Linked DNA regions of Homo sapiens: region 1 is linked to region 2. The links are contacts of gene promoters, found by promoter capture Hi-C in blood cells and fetal thymus (Javierre and others, 2016). All regions are on one chromosome and are shown on one strand. Each heading gives the region's core, a stretch centred on a gene start or on the middle of the fragment in contact. The rest is flanking DNA. Distances are from core to core; before and after follow the strand shown.

Region 1 (4,289 bases), core at 633-3,132, 2.3 Mb after region 2:
CTAGGGAACACTTCCAAAACTTGTCACAAAGCACAAAAAGGAGATGAAAGGGGGGACAGTTATTTTTCATTACACAAGTAAAAATGACAGAAAGGAGTAAATAGCATCTGACATATGCTAAGCACTGTGCTTGAATTCAGTCGTCATTTATTTGTCGTCCACTTAAGCTCTTTACATGGCTTCCATCTGCTTTACTGCCAAAAAGAAAGACATGATAGAGGAAAGAAAGATGGAGGGCCAAAGTCACTGACCAGCAAGTGATGGAATCAACCACTATTTGAACCTGAATTATCCAGCTCTAACACCTGTTCCCTTTCTCCCTCATCATAAGCAGCCATACTTTCTCCAGCTAAATCCATTCCATCTTTCTGGGCAAGAGAAAAATATAACACCTTGGTAGTTGGTCTCTTGGGCTACAAATGAAAGGCCAAGCAGCCCTTATTCCCTCATAATATAAAAATAAATCTTAAAGTAGTATGACTTTTCTAAGTATAAAAATAGCACTGCCCAGTAGAACTTGCTGCCTTTCTGTGATGATGGAAAAGTTGTATGTCTGAGCTGATGGAATGAATGTGAGAGAAAGTGAGGAATCAATGATGACTTCATGAAATTCACCTATAAAACCATCTAGACCTAATACCATTGACAGCAGAGAGAGTAGGTCTTTTATTAGAACTTTTACTAGAACTTCTTGGTTCTATAATTTACATACTTCTATATGTAGATTTTTAGAATCTTTCTCCAAGCTAAACCACTCATGTTAGCAAAAATTTTTAAAGCTTCCATTTTAGCTTCTAGCTTCACTGTAATTTTTTTTCACCATCCTCAGTTTTAGTGTCTTACCTCTATACTGACATTTCTCAGTTCAGCCATCATTTATCAAGCATTGACAGTGAATTATAGTTTCTCCAGTGATTCCTCTGGTTTACTGGGCAGACCCTGCTGACTCCATGTTTTTCAGAAGTCCCCAGAAAAGATGCACTTCTGTTTTCAGAAGACCAAATTATTTCATCTTTAGGAATAGTTTCACCACCAGGGCATGTAAAATATGGTGTCAGAAGTCCAATTTACCACTTTTCATCTCACTAATTCCCAGGGCCAGAGGTACTCAAAATTGTATCTGAAAAAGTAATAAACTTGAAGCACTGATCAGTTACTGGAGATAAAACAAGAAAACCCAAAAGAATGTGTTTCTGTGTGCATGGCCACTTTCAGATGCAGGTGTGCTAGAATACCAAAGAATACAAGTCAGGCATATGAATTTCTGAGGTCTCCCTCTGGCTTCCAGACTCAGAAGCAGATCTCTGTCCTGTACTTAAAGTATATAAGAAGGCTAGTTTCTGTGTGTGTCTGTGACAGTAACTCATAGTCGTATAGTAAAACAAAGCCCTTTTTACACATATCACCTCATTTGATCATCATAAAAACTCCACGAAACAGTTAAAATGATTTCAATTTGTGGAAGCAGAAACTGAGGCTAGAGAAATAAGTAAATGATAGAACCTGGACCTCAACCCAGATTTTTCTGACTCCAGATCCCAACTTCCTTTTAACTATACCATGAATACTCATTACGATGTTGAAAACAGACTTCAGTTTTTAAACACACTTCTACCAGAACTACATGTTCCCTAACATGTTGATCAATTGATCCCTAACTCCAAAAATGCAATATTTCACGTGACAGAACAAAGACCATTTTTGAGCATTTCCTGAAACTCTGTCATGTGCCATGCCCTGAGTTACAGCAATGGGGAAACAGCAGGAAACAAAACACAGGCACAGTCCTGCTTTCTGGCACATCAAGTCTAGTGAATTACATCAGGAACTAAGTGAGGCATAAAACACAAAGGACATGTTGTTATCATGTCCACTAACCTCAAATCGGATTCCAGGTCTTTATCAAAGGCTGCAGAGTATGTGAAAGGGACTTTTTTGTGTACTTGGCATATCATGCCCCAGCACCGCTGGTACTCCTGCTGTTTGAGGGAAATGCTAACTAGAAAGAGAGATGTGGCTGAGGGGTGCAAAAGAGCCTGGAAAGACAGCTCTACCTTTTACAGTGGTGAAGTGAAGATGTGAGTGTTAACACGGACTCTGCAGGTTGCTGCAGACAGGAGAGAGCTTGGCTCTTGTTCATTTCCTATAGGCACAGAGAATGCCTCTATGACCCTGACCTGGCACCCTGACAGTTCTGCTCTCCCTCCTTAAAGATAGCCCTTCAGAAGGAGTCCTTAATGAGCCTGCAGGCCCAGCTGGACAAAGCTCTGCAGAAGGAGAAGCACTATCTCCAGACTACCATCACCAAAGAAGCCTATGATGCATTATCCCGGAAGTCAGCCGCCTGCCAGGATGACCTGACACAAGCCCTCGAGAAGGTGAGGCCACACCCTCTAGTCTCCAGGGCTGTTTTCAGGCAAGGAAACGTCAAGGTAGCGGGAGAAGCACAGGAGCCAATTTCCTGCCTATTGACTGTCAATGGGGCCATCTCAAACCCTTGTGTGGGCTGGGATGTCTGTGCAGAGAAGGCCTGCTTCCTCTTTGTGAGGCTTGGAGTTGGGTGGAGGGCGGAGGAAGAGGACAAAGATCAAAACCAAATCTAGCAAGCCTTTCTGCCCATGGGTGACTCGGGGGCAAGGTTTTCCCAAAGTCTGGATTGTCAGGGAAATTCATGCCCCATCCTGTGCTGATCATGGCTGGCCCATCAATTCATGGGATTGGAAAGAGAAGAAATGGAGGGAGTGGGTAGGAAGGAGAAAGCAGGGTGCAGAAAACCAACCACTGTCATTTCCCACCCCTCTCTGGGAGACTAGGCAAGGTGACCGTCCGTGTCACCCTGGGCAGAGGACAGGAAGGGACTGGAACCCTCCTCCATTCAGGACTCAGCAGAGAGGGTCAAAGTCTCTGACAGCCATTCGTCCTCTTTGTCTTTTCCGGAAGCTCAATCACGTGACCTCAGAGACAAAGAGCCTGCAGCAAAGCTTGACACAGACCCAAGAGAAGAAAGCTCAGCTGGAAGAGGAAATCATTGCTTATGAGGAAAGGATGAAAAAGCTCAATACGGAATTAAGAAAACTGCGGGGCTTCCACCAGGAGAGTGAGCTGGAGGTGAGGAGCTGCCAGGGGCTTGGGCTGCCTTCCTGGTAGGGGTCCACAAGGTCACCTCTTGCATCCAGAATTATTTAGCACTAAGTCATTCCCTTGGGCTGCTAGGTTCCCTCCACTTTCTTGGCTCCCTGAACTTCAGACAGAGGCAGCAAAGATCGGAGCATGGGTGCCCTCTGCTGGCCACTGAGAAGAAAATACCCCCAACACGTATCCCAAGGCCCAGGAAGCACCCTCTGGCCTTGTGGGTCCTGCGGTCAGGGAGGCCAGCTGGAGTCCCCCTCCTCACTTTGCTCTCCTGAGTAGGTGCACGCCTTTGACAAGAAGCTAGAGGAGATGAGCTGCCAGGTGCTGCAGTGGCAGAAGCAACACCAGAATGACCTCAAGATGCTGGCAGCCAAAGAGGAGCAGCTCAGGGAGTTCCAGGAGGAGATGGCCGCCTTAAAAGAGAACCTCCTTGAGGACGATAAGGAGGTGGGCATGCCTTGGCTTCTGCGTGCCTCCTCTCAGTGCCTCCAGGCACATCCTATGACCACCCAAATGCCAGACAGCCCTTGGTGGGGGTGGGAGAGCCTGGGAGCAAAGGAAAGGTCACCCCCTCCATTTAGCACAAAGCAAGAGCCACAGCTGCTGGTTCAACCCACCTGTGTTCTTGTGGCTTTGTTGATAGATACTGAGCAGAGCGAAGGCCCCATTCTAGAGAAGAGACTGTCAGGTACACCAGCTACCCCTGACCTAGTCCACTGGGTCCCCTTCCAGAGTACATCCTGACACTTTTGGCAGCCCTGGACCCTACAGTAGAATGGACTAAGTGACCTTCTGGGCTTGTCCCAGGCCCACCTCCCTGAGCAGTGAAGTTCATGGCAGGAGGCCGCAGGACAGCTCAGGTGGCCACTGGGCCTTTGCTCGAATTACAAAGAAGGCATCTTAGGCCGGGCACAGTGGCTCATGCCTGCAGTCCCTACACTTTGGGAGGCCAAGGCAGGAGGACTGCTTGAGTCCAGGAGTTTGAGACCAGCCTGGGCAACATAGCAAGACCTCATCTCTACAATAAGTTTAAATGTTAGCTGAGCATGGTGGCCTATGCTTGTGGTCCCAGCTACTCGGCAGGCTAAGTGGGAGGATAGCTTGAGCCGGGGGGGAGGTTAAGCTGCCATGAGCCGTGATCATGCCACTGCACTCCA
Region 2 (4,740 bases), core at 770-3,269:
GGCTGGTCTCAAGCTCCTGACCTCAAGTGATCCGCCTGCCTTGGCCTCCCAGAGTTCTGGGATTACAGGCATGAGCCATCACACCCGGCCTGGGACTCTTCTTGCAGTGAGCCAGGGCCATGGGACCCTTCAAAAGTTGCTCCACCCTAATCCCCAAAATATCTTTTTCTCCCGCCTGTCCCAAGTGCCTGGCATCATACTATATGGGTCAACTGGCCGTGTTTGCCATGGAAGCCCAATTGTAGGAAGTGGGTCTTTTATCACCCGGCATAGCAGAGCTGTGGAAACTGCACTGGGAAAGATCAGGATGTGAATTAAAGCGTTGGGAATGGGAAGGCAGAGACCTTGGATTAGCTGGGATGCTCCATGCACTCGCTGAGTGACCTTGGACAAGCCCCTTAGACACACTAAGCCCGTTTCCTCATCTACACGACGGGCATCCCATCTGCTACTGCACCAGGTTCTTGTGGCAATAACTTGAACTCACACATGCAAACAGGCTTTGTGAGCTCCATAAACACAGGTGGCTCGGCCAGGTGTGGTGGCTCATGCCTGCAACCCCAGCACTTTGGGAGGCCAAGGTGGGAAGATCCCTTGAGCCCAGGAGTTGGAGACCAGCCTGGGCAAGACGATGAAATCCTGTCTCTACCAAAAAAAATAATAATAATTAGCCAGGCATGGTGGCACACACCTGGTCCCAGCTACTTGGGAGGCTGAGGTGGAAGGATCACTTGGGCCCAAGAGGTCAAGGCTGCAGTGAGCTGAGATTATAACACTCCAACCTGAGTGGCAGAATGAAACTGTCTAAAAAATAAAAATAAAAATACATCAAAAAACAGGTAGCTATTAAGCATTGCTAGGACCCACACGCAGTGACCCTGAGGGTGCTGGGTTTCTGTTTGAGGGAGAAGAAACTCCTGAGCCCCTAGGTATTGTGGGGGACATGCAGTTCCAGACCGCCTTCATGGCCTGTATGCCTGGCCTCATCCCCATCCCTGGCACCCATGACGATAGCCACATTCCACTGGTGTTTCCCCAGGAAAGCCAACCCTACCTGCATCTCAGCAGAGCTTCCACGGAGTTGGAACCCCGCTCCGAGAGGGTGTGGGCTCAGGGGCCAGGGGTCACACAAACTCCAGAAGGAGGACGTAGTTGGTTTGCAAGGCTGTCCTTTGCCCTGGTTGAATAACCTTCGGTCTGCCCCGAGAGGAACGTGGGCATTAGGCTGCAGCCCGCAGGAAGCCATGTATTTTCTGAGAAACTTGGCCCATGGTGCAGATCTGCTCCAGCTCACTCTGGTGGGATCACGCCAGCCACGGCCGGGCCACGGCACATCATGGCAACGTGCTGCCCACCTGCTACGCCGCCTGTTTTTCTAGAGGCGGACGTGATCCCAGCAGGACTGGAGTCAGCCCAGGGCATCACGTGCTCTGGTCCCCGCCTGCTTTGACTCCTCCTGCCTCACTCCCCCCCTGGCCTGTAGTCACGTGGGTGAGGGTGGTGGGCACCGGGGCTGGGCCCAGCCCCCGACCCTGCCCAGACAGACTTTCCTAAGGCACCCTTTTCCTCGTGCAGGTGCGGCCTCAGCCCACCCCCCTTTGAGCCCACAGATTGCACCCCTCTGGTGTGCGGTTACCTCTTGCCTATGTTTAATTCATGGCTGGGGGGTTGGGACGAGCTTCCCAAGAAAGGAAAGAACTCCCCTGGGGTCTTGCCCAGTTCCTGCTCACCAGAAGGACCATAGCCGAGGTCCTCCTCCCAGGGCCCGGGGCTGGGGAGCGGAAGCCATCAGTGGGCTCGGAGGACACTGTCCCAGCCAGGACACGGCCATCGGTCACTAATCTGCAGCACCGGAATGTCCCCAGGCCAATCAGCGGGGTCTCTGGGGGCTCCCCAAGGGTGCTAATAATCCCACAATGATTAGCAGGGGCCGCGGGGCAGTGCACGCCACTCTGCCTGCTGTCGGGGGCGGGCTGGCCAGGCCGAGGCCGGAGCAGGCAGGCATCCCCGGGAGTTGTCTCTTTTCATGCCAGCGCCAACAGGAGGCTGTCTGGACACACTGATTACTCACTCACCAGCCTCCTTCTTTTGTTCACCAGCCCCCCTCTTTTGTCCACCAGCCCAGCCTGACTCCTGGAGATTGTGAATAGCTCCATCCAGCCTGAGAAACAAGCCGGGTGGCTGAGCCAGGCTGTGCACGGAGCGCCTGACGGGCCCAACAGACCCATGCTGCATCCAGAGACCTCCCCTGGCCGGGGGCATCTCCTGGCTGTGCTCCTGGCCCTCCTTGGCACCACCTGGGCAGAGGTGTGGCCACCCCAGCTGCAGGAGCAGGCTCCGATGGCCGGAGGTAAGGGACACCTGGTGAGGAGGTAGGTGGAGGCACCATTATGAGCTCTGAGGAGTGGGTGCTAGGAGACTTCTGGAAGCCCGGTCCCAGGCCTGAGCCCCAGGCCGTGCGGGTGGTTTAATGAGGAAGCCCTGGGACAGCCCGGGGGCGGTGAGGGGTGGATGCTGGACTGGGGAGGAAGGAGGAGGAAGGAGGAGGAAGGAGGACCAGGGCTGGGGTCAAGGAGGAACGCCGAGGAGCGCTGTGGCTGGGGCCTGGAGAAATCCGTGGCCCGGAGGAGCCCCAGACAGGGGCCTGCGGGAGCCAGGGCTGGCCCCTACACCCAGCCCGCACCGCTGTTCCCTCCCGCCACCCCAACCCCAGCACTCAGCCCACGCCTGCTGTACCTGGTCTCTCTCTCAGCCTCGCTCCATTGCTATGCCCCACGTCCCCTGCACCCACCACACTCCTCTCCCATCTTGTTTTCCAAGGGCAGGGACACATGCTTATTCTGCCGTGTGTTGGGTTCAGGTCCCCCCATCCTCGGGCTGCCTGACCTTCTCTCCCCACCCCAGCCCTGAACAGGAAGGAGAGTTTCTTGCTCCTCTCCCTGCACAACCGCCTGCGCAGCTGGGTCCAGCCCCCTGCGGCTGACATGCGGAGGCTGGTGAGTACCCGACCCAGCTGGGCTCTGCCAGGGGGGTGGCCGGAGGCGCGGACCCCAGAGGGCGGCTCAGGAGGCCACGCCTGTCCAGGTGCCCTTCCACTTGACCAGGGTGGGCAGGCACAGCCAGCCACCTTGCCCCTGAGGGACGGAGGCCCTGGTTGCTGGGGGTCTCTGCAGTTTCTTAACCCCCCACCCTCAGTTCAGGAGGTCGGGCCCCTTGGCTCCCACTCGCCTGAAGGGCAGGACCTTGGGCCTTCCCTGGCATCTTGTTGCCACAGAGACCAGGAGCCACAGGAGGAGCCGGATCCCCTCCTCCAGGGAAGGGGAGCTTCACGAGGAGCCCTGCAGGATGGGCGGCCGGGCCAGGGAGGGAGAAGGTCGTGCTGGGCTGGGGAGGGGCTTCTGTGCGGCAAGGACCCAGCGCCTCCTCCTGAGCTTATCTGAGCCACTAGGACGGGCCTTGCCCATGTTCTCTGCTCACTCACTCGTCCACATTTTCCACATTTTCAGCAGGGGCCAGGGGTCGGGGGTATAGAGTTCCCCACCAGCCCGGCTGGGGCTGCGGGGTTGGGACTGTCATCTGGAGGCTCAGAAACGCTGCCCTCCATTGTCTGGGACCCCAGCAGCCCCAGCCCATGTTAGCAGGCCAGGGAGCCAGGGCAGGGTGGTGGGGGCGGGAGGGTTCCCCATGGCTGCTTCCCATGAACTCCTCCAAGGCAGGTGGCCACAGTGGCGACCTTGAACACTCTAGGGTCAGTTTCCCAGGAGGTGGGGGTGGGGTGGCTAAATGCGGGGGGTCGCTTCTCCCCCATTCCCAGCCCTGAGTGGCTCTGCCTCTCCTCAGGCTCAGACCCTGGGCAACCAGGGGTGCTCCCAGCTGTGACCTCCGTGGTTGGGTACTCCTGCCTGGGACCCCAGGAGGGGCTGCGGTGGTCGTTGGCTGGCAGCTGGCACCCTTTCCAGGGCCCTTTTGTCAAAGTCTTAGAAAACTTCATTTCCATAAAGGTGCAAATGGAGCTCCATGGCTCAGCCTCCCTCGTGGCCCGGCCCCGAGCACCCTCCGGGCCTCTAGGGCTCCAGGGCACCCCTTCTTTGGACACAGTGGAGACTGAAGGTCTTGTGGGGGTGGAGGGCTGCTGAGGGACCCCGGGGAGCCCCCAGCTCCTGGCCCCAGCCTTCATCAGAGGTAAAACCCCGATGGACATTAGTGCAGGATGAAGTTGGCTTGGGGTGCAGCCCCGAGGGGCCCCCCTCCCTGCATCCACTCTGTGCTTGTGAGTCCTATCCTGCAGGCACCTCCCTGCTCCGTTTACAGATGAGCTCAGGGAGTCTCGGGAGATCAGGGGACTGCACCAAGTCACCCAGGGGTGGTGATTGCCAGGCCCCTTGTTTAAGAAGAGGGAGGGGGCTGGGCACGGTGGCTCACACCTGTAATCCCAGCACTCTGGGAGGCTGACACAAGCAGATCACCTAAGGTCAGCAGTTTGACACCAGCAATGGCCAACATGGTGAAACCCCGTCTCTACTAAAAATACAAAAATTAGCCAGGTGTGGTGTCACATGGCTGTAATCCCAGCTGCTTGGGAGGCTGAGGCAGGAGAATTGCTTGAACCTGGGAGGCGGAGGTTGCAGTAAGCCGGGATTTCTCCACTGCACTCCAGCCTGGGCGACAGGGTGAGACTCTGTCTCAAAAAAAAAAAAGAAGAGGGAGGGGGCGGGGTCAGCTGTGCGTGGTGGGGAGCAT

Evidence for each region. Contacts are between HindIII fragments. The CHiCAGO score rates a contact against its expected background, and 5 or more counts as called.
Region 1: a fragment that was not itself captured here is called in contact with the fragment with the promoter of CLEC18B in region 2 in 1 of 17 cell types (naive CD8 T cells); the score reaches 6.5 in naive CD8 T cells.

Annotation. Positions count from the first base shown.
Region 1 is chr16:72,124,057-72,128,345 of GRCh38, reverse strand. PMFBP1 (polyamine modulated factor 1 binding protein 1) reads left to right here. Exons shown (of 21, transcript NM_031293.3): 15 at 2,214-2,378; 16 at 2,941-3,108; 17 at 3,412-3,579. Among named protein-coding and RNA genes, the nearest start is that of DHX38, 32 kb to the right of the region's middle. RefSeq lists enhancers at 2,289-2,790, 3,335-3,394, 3,405-3,514. The HindIII fragment of the contact is 2,202 bases long and covers 782-2,983 here.
Region 2 is chr16:74,418,757-74,423,496 of GRCh38, reverse strand. It overlaps CLEC18B (C-type lectin domain family 18 member B), which reads left to right and starts at 2,019. Exons shown (of 12, transcript NM_001385193.1): 1 at 2,019-2,350; 2 at 2,905-2,996. The coding sequence starts at 2,227. LOC107984827 (a long non-coding RNA gene) reads right to left here and starts at 1,377. Exons shown (of 3, transcript XR_001752253.3): 1 at 1,055-1,377. The HindIII fragment of the contact is 28,054 bases long and covers 1-4,740 here.